2 separate regions of the Homo sapiens genome follow, and region 2 is linked to region 1. The links are contacts of gene promoters, found by promoter capture Hi-C in human tissues and cell types (Jung and others, 2019). All regions are on one chromosome and are shown on one strand. Each heading gives the region's core, a stretch centred on a gene start or on the middle of the fragment in contact. The rest is flanking DNA. Distances are from core to core; before and after follow the strand shown.

Region 1 (3,613 bases), core at 87-2,586:
TGCTCTTTCTTTCAGATGCAGCATAAGGACCAACTTAGCTGGGTGCTTCACTTCAACTATCACCATGTCCTTCTGTCATATAGATAGGCAAAGTTTCTCTGTCCTCTGGATAAGGGCCAATTAACAAATCCAGAGAGTCTAGTCACATTAACTTTCCTTAACACCACTCAGTATCTTTTCCTTAGCAAACTCCACTTTAAAATGTCATCAGCTTTACTTTTGGGGAAGTTGAGTTCAGTTAATGCTGCACTGGTTCCTGTTGCAATAGTATTACTGAATAAAACCTGTCCTCACCACATTAACTAGTATCCAGATTTGTTGATCCTTGACAACACTCAGATGTCTCCTGCACTCTACTGGCTTCAAGGTCGGATAAATGAGTTGAACACCTCTTCAGTTTCCAGCAATGTTAGGTGTTTTCTATATTTCTTTGATTTGATCATTACTATGGAAACTGGAAGAGAGGGAAAAAAAATCAAACATCTAACATAATATTTCAGTCCCAACACCTTCCATAAGCTGTTCCTTGCAATATAAGTGTATGGAATGATGAAAGAGGCAGTGTAGCGTAACAGAAAAGACCACGAGTTTTGCAGCAAGAGTCAGCTTTGATTTGATTCCTTGCTCTAAATTTTTAAAATTAGCTTCTTAAACCTGAGAAAGAGGCTAAATTTTCTGTCTCATTTTTTCATTTGAAAATAGAAATAATAATGCCTACTATATAGACTTGGAAAAGTGAGATTGAACAAGAAAATATGTACAACATGTGGTACTTAGCTCATAGTAATTGTTCAATAAATGTTATTTTGTGTTAATATCTGATAATTCCCAAAGAGATTTGTTTTCTCTGTCTGTTGTTACAACAATGCATCTCCTCATGCCATCCCTCATTTACCTATCTATATATTTCCTTTATTAAGCAATGAGTTTCTTCATAGGTATCATTTTTCCTTGTATTGTAAGCTCCTACCAATTGAAAAGGTGGGCATCCAGTACCTGTTTATGTAATTTAAAAAATACATGAATAAATACATGAACAAAGTTATGGTAAACTTGGAGCACCAAAACTGAAATAGTTTGCATCGGTTAAATTAATTAATGTCAGACTTAGTTGTGAGAGTAATGAAGGCAGCATAAGACATTAATGTATGCATTTTTCTTACATTTGGTCTGAAACAAAGACTCATCTGCTATGCTGCCTTTTAGTTTTCCTGAGTCAGCAGTCTCAGAAACAGGATCTAAAGGTACAAATGGAAAATTACCACAGCATAGTTTCATTTCCTGCTCTTGAATATCTGGTTGAACTACTTAAGCTTAATTTGTTAAACTCCGGTAAGTACCTAGCCCACATGATTTGACTCAGAGATTCTCTTTTGTCCACAGACAGTCATCTCAGGAGCAGAAAGAAAAGAGCTCCCAAATGCTATATCTATTCAGGGGCTCTCAAGAACAATGGAATATCATCCTGATTTAGAAAATTTGGATGAAGATGGATATACTCAATTACACTTCGACTCTCAAAGCAATACCAGGATAGCTGTTGTTTCAGAGAAAGGTATATATATGTTTTTTCTAATGTGTGCCTTTAGCTCTCCCGTTTGAAAAGATATAAGGGGAGGCTAGGCATGGTGGCTCACACCTGTAATCCCAGCACTTTGGGAGGCCGAGGCGGGTGGATTGACTGAGGTCAGGAGTTCGAGGCCAGCTTGGCTAACGTGGTGAAACTCTGTCTCTACTAAAAATACAAAAATTAGCCGGGCATGGTGGTGCACGCCTGTAGTTCCAGGTACTTGGGAGGCTGAGGCAGGAGAATCACTTGAACCTGGGAGGTGGAGGTTGCAGTGAGCCAAGATCATGCCAATGCACTCCAGCCTGGGTGGCAGAGCAAGACTCCATCTCTGAAAAAAAATAAAAATAAAAACAAAACAAAAAGATATAAGGGGAGAAAATTTGAGAGCCTCGTGATGTGTATATTTTTATGGATATACTTTTAAAGGCTTCAGATGTCACTGAAGATAAATTGAATGCACCCTAAACCTTTTTTCATGAAAATTATTCAGTGACCAATTATTAGTGTTTAAATTAATTATGTCTGATGGCAGAAAATAGAATTTCTCTTTTCTATAGATATAGACATTTCATCAGTGAGGAATTGGTAATAAGTGGGATAATACACAAAGATAAAGGATTTCTGTATGAGTGACTTGTTGCTTGTTTGATAGAAAGGCTAGATTATCGAATGGAGGCCAGGAAACTTAAAGAAGTATATATATGAACAACATTTTTTTTTTGTGGTAAGAGATTAATTTAAATTGTTTTTAAACAAAAAACAATTATTGGTATACCAGTGATGGAAAATATATGAACATATGGTAGATAAAAACATCCCACCAGCAGGACATGAGTCTTAAACAAAGTGTAAATGAAATGAAATAGAAAGAAGGGCATTGGAGGATCTCTGTATTCATAGAATGGGTGATTTAGCCTACTCTACGATTCTCCTATGTGACAATTCTATGAAATGTCCTGACAGCTTAGTCACAGTGGAAAGCAGAAATACATTCTGGTTATGGCAATGTTCATACAAAATTAGTTCCCTATTATCTTTGAGAGAGAGAGATCATTTGTCGGTTTTGACACCAGAGTTTGCTTTCTTCTGCTTTCTGGTTATTCACACTGCACAAATATTTTCCTCTCAGCACTGATGTAATTCTTTTCTTGGGCAACCTATTGAGGAAGCGTGGAAAAAGTGGATGAGGCAAGAGGTAGGGAGACATGCGCATGTTTATGCATATGTGTAGGCAAACGGTATCCTGCAACAACACACCTATCATGTGCTAGCAGTCTCTAAACAAGGTGCTTTTATATGTGTTAGCTCGTTTAATTCCCGCAATAATCCTTTGAGATATTATTACCCCAGTTTCACAAAGAGGAATAAAAAACAACAAAGGGAGTAATTTGCCCAGGGTCATGCAACAAACATATGAAAAGGGAAAATTACCCTTAGTAATCAGTGCTATCTCCCCAACATTAAGCTATTTCCTCTAAGAATCAGTGGGATTTCAGGGATCCTACTAATGTCAAGACCTGTAGATGTCAATGTGGAACTGAAATTAGGAGCATACAGTTATCAAGCCAATGTGCCGAAATTACAATTCCAGCAATTGAAGAAGAAGGTATCCTTACTGGTGGAGAAGCACAGCAAATCCTAGGTGACCAGGTAACCTAGGCAGTGATTAATAATTCACTTAAAAATTTGCCAGTATTTTTTGTTGTTGTTGTTGGTGGTGTGTGTGTGTGTGTGTGTGTGTGTGTGTGTGTGTGTGTTTTAACAGGGTATCACTTTTTTGCCTATGCTGCTCTGGAATTCCTAGGCTCAAGTGATCCTCCTGCCACAGCCTCCAGAGTAGCTGGGACTACGGGAGCTCACCACAATGCCCAGCTAATTAAATTTTTTTTCTTTCTTTGTTTTTCTTTTTTTTTTTTGGTAGGGACAGGGTCTCCCTGTGTTGCCCAGGCTGGTCTTGAGCTTCTGGCCTCAAGCAATCCTCCTACCTCAGTCTCCCTTCTGGGATTACAGGTGTGAGCCACCGTGCAAGGCCAGATTTTTGAT
Region 2 (3,952 bases), core at 1,393-3,892, 120 kb after region 1:
GTGTTAAGTCTTTCAGGTAAATAAAAATAGCAAGCACTTCCTTCAATACATATTTCTTGACTTTATTTCTCAGCATTGGAATGATAAGTGAATGTGTGTCTAGGCAGAAAAGAGGCTCTTTATTCTAATGAATAACTGGAAACAAAGAGTCTTTGTCTAAGTCCAGTTTAGCTTATCAAGATAAAACAATGAATTTAGAACCAAATCCTGATAATGTCTTTTGCCGGTTTTTTGGGAAGATATGACGAATAGGAGAGATATGAGACAGCAGAAAAGTATCAGACGATTCAGGATGCTAGGACCCATCTACAATCCAAGCTGAAAGTACATGGTTTACAATATGTTTTCTAGTTGCCTTTGTTGGGTTTGATGCTGATATACTTACACATCATCCCCAATGTCACCAGCCCAATCAGCAACATCAGGCAAAGAGTTACCAGACCCAGAGCAGCATGACGCCAAATGGGAGATGGAGCTGGATGCCCTGGAGAAAGCCAAAAGAGCAATCAGCACACAGAACTGCTTTGTGCTTGTTTCACTTTGGTTTGTTTATTTCTCCCACTTAGGGAGCTTCCCGATACTAACGTTTCTTTCTTGCTTCTTTAATGCCCTCATTTAGAAAATACCTAATATGAAGTGCAATGAGGGTGCCATCCTTGTTTCCCCTCCATTTCTCCACCGCTCTCCTTCACTTTAAGAGGAAGCTTCGTTGGGGGAGGGGGGAGGCATACCTTTAGGAGATATACCTAATGCTAAATGACGAGTTAATGGGTGCAGCACACCAGCATGGCACATGTATACATATGTAACTAACCTGCACATTGTGCACATGTACCCTAAAACTTAAAGTATAATAATAATAAAATAAAAAGGAAGCTTCTCCTAATTTCAAGGTTTTTGTTTTACATCATTGCCCACTTTTCTTCCTCAAGTTTATTGAATTCATAAATGAGAGATCTAAAAACTGCTTTTCTGGATGATGCTGACAGTAGGAGACACCTCAAGCTTTTGAGCTCAAAAGTCTCTATAAGGCACATGTTCTATCTGCCTTGTAAAAGTGGATTCGACTTTTTAAAGTATCTTTTACCTGTTAACAATAACTTATCTATTATTCATGCTATTTATCACCTAATAAATAATGAATGAATACTGAATGAAAGAAGGAAAGAATGTGCAGTCTAACCTACAAACAGCAGAATAGACCAGAAAGCCGTTAGCATCCTAGTCATTGTTGTTGTTTAAAATATCAATGGTTGTCATGTTTTCCTTAGCTTCATATCCCTTGATTTAGGTCCAAATAACATCTAGCGCAATGTTTTAGATACAGCATGACAGACTCTAGGTACACTGTGATATGCACCATATCCACACCTCCTTTTTCCTCACAGGTTAGAATTAGAATTAAAAAGTAAAACAAAACAAGGCAAAAATGTGTAACCACATTTATTAGACATATGCAAAGTCTATTCCCATCGGCTTTTTGTAAATATCCTTCCCTCAAATGTCATGCACCACACAAAATGTAAAGATAAATCTAGAGGGCAGGAGAAAGTAGTTCAGATGACTGACATGATTCAGGAGAACCTGGATAGTTAACATATCTGAAAATAAGAGATGTGGTCTTATATATTAAATCAGAGTCTTGACCATGGAGACTGCTATTTTTCCAATTAGGCATAAGAGAATGAGCTGAAGACCAGCACTGAGACTGGGCTTCCCCACATAGCAGTTGTGTGAGCTTGCTTAAATTATCTAATTTCTCTCACCCTCAGTTTTTTCATCTATGTAATGGAGAAAATACTAATATTCGAATATTATTGTGGATTTTCATTACAATTATATCTGTATATAATGTACATAAAATACTACCCAGATACTATTATTACTGGTTCAACATTACAAATTATGCTCGGATTTCAACTACCCTAAAATTTGAAAAAATACTGACAAAAGAAAAATTAGCTCTGATCTATTTCTAATCCACTCACTCATCTTCCAGTTTTCTCTTAAGTAACTTACATCATCTAAAAGAAAAACGTCCTCTACCTTCTCTATTTTAGAAGCCTCCAATCTGGTTTCTGAAAGAATATCCTCCTGGCATCTCTAACAAGGTATAAATATCAAGGATTATATTCATAAGAAGAAATCTCTAATTCCCCAAGCTCAATTTCTGGCATGTGCAGTCAGAATTTCTCTGACTGTGTGATATCACACAACTTTAAAGAGGTTCTGAAAGCCACATATTTTCACTTCAACCTTGGGAACACTCACTTTTCTAATACATTCCACAACTATTTGTCCCCATTTTGGAGATTTCACAGCACATGTCTTTAACGCCAGTATTAAAGCTGGCACCTCAAAGCATTTAACACCTGTCCACTCCCCCAAGGACACAGCTGGTCTTCTCTGAACTCCTACCTCTTTTTCTTAGGTTATTTCCATCTCGGTTATTCCTTGCTCCAGCAGAATCCTGAAATGTGAGTGTCGCGTAGGTCACTTCTTCAGACATTGTAGAAGAAAACGCTACTTTAAATTATCTAATTAATGTTTCAATATCTTGAGGCCTGGGAACAGCATGTGTTTTTCAAGGCTGGGAGCTTTGATGTAGTCACTCAGCTGACCCAGACACACTCTACTGCCCCTCTGTAAGAGAAGAATGACAATTTGTTTCTCTACAGAGAAAGTGAGAAAAGCCAAATATTCTCCTTAGAGATATTCTCATTAGAATGTTACAGATCTCAAACTGTCTGCTCTGTCAGAACTGTTTCTTGCTGTGCAGCAAAGAAGGGGTGCTTGAGGCAGAGCAGGAGGAACATGAGGGAATTCCCATGATCCTCGGGGTAGAGGATGCTCTGAATGTTTCAGAAAAGAGTCAGGTTGTCTTCTTTACATCTATCTAAGGCTAGCTAATCTGCCTGGAGACATTGGTTCTAGTTTATTCTCAGCCACATTAGATATTAAGCAGAGAGACACACATTAAGACAGAAAGAGCTGTGCCACACACCTGGCTGCTATTATAGAAAATTCAAGCGTGTGTGTGTGTGTGTGTGTGTGTGTGTGTGTGTGTGAGAGAGAGACAGAGAGAGACAGAGAGAGAGAGACAGAGAGAGAGAGACATGGTGTTGGTAATGGAGCATGGAGAAGAAACTGATAGCTACTTAGCTACTTAACGTGAGTATGAATGGGAGTGCCCTCTTCTGGCATGGTTGGGAAAGTTCCTAACAGAACAACAACCATGGGATAATCCTGCAGACAGCAAGGAATACACAGGACAAGATTTTAAAAAGATAACTACCGGAAGTTAATACATCTGTGGTAATTTGTTACAGCAGCAATATGTAGTTAATACAGAACCCAGGAAAATATGGGGGGGGAGCGCTATATATGAGGGACGAAATTAAGGAATCTCCTCTAAAGCTTTCCTTTGGGGAGAGGCAGAATATTAGATAACTGTACTTAGGGGAAGGATTGGGTATGAGTTTTGTGGTTTCAGATGAGTGGGGAGTGATCTAAAACTTCCAAGGTTCATATCTGTGTGGAGATTATCTTAGTCAAAGGTGTCCAGCGTGAGGTGCACTCACCCCACAGCTGTGAAGCAGATGCAGAAAGGCAATGTAAAAACTTTCTCTTTAGGAACGCTGTGCATGATCTCTAAACACCTAAATATACATATGTTACTTGTTCATGTTTTTTGTTTTTTTTTTTTTCAAATTGATGAAATAATCAAAAAAATGTTTGGAGGCTCTAAGTCATATATCAATAAAACTCCACTATCAAAAATATTGAAACAAATAATAAATCTATGCTTATGTTTACTATTCTAGTTGAATTCAGAAAAGGCAGAGACCATTGACATGAGGACCAGTTTAAATAGATGATTACAAAAATAAGAAATTAAGAATGGTTTTCTATCTCTGTTCTGGTCCGTGTCCGGAGTTGGTTCCTGCCGGTG

The links. Contacts are between HindIII fragments. The study calls those that stand out against the background at their distance.
Region 2: a contact is called between the fragment with the promoter of CLEC12B here and the fragment with the promoter of CLEC7A in region 1, in 3 of the 25 tissues and cell types used here (hippocampus, lymphoblastoid cells and thymus).

The regions. Positions count from the first base shown.
Region 1 is chr12:10,127,922-10,131,534 of GRCh38, reverse strand. CLEC7A (C-type lectin domain containing 7A) reads left to right here and starts at 1,336. Exons shown (of 6, transcript NM_197947.3): 1 at 1,336-1,555. The coding sequence starts at 1,453. It overlaps LOC105369655 (a long non-coding RNA gene), which reads right to left. Exons shown (of 4, transcript XR_007063208.1): 2 at 295-454. The HindIII fragment of the contact is 18,210 bases long and covers 1-3,613 here.
Region 2 is chr12:10,009,317-10,013,268 of GRCh38, reverse strand. CLEC12B (C-type lectin domain family 12 member B) reads right to left here and starts at 2,642. Exons shown (of 6, transcript NM_001129998.3): 1 at 2,419-2,642; 2 at 386-484. The coding sequence starts at 2,509. The HindIII fragment of the contact is 4,454 bases long and covers 1-3,932 here.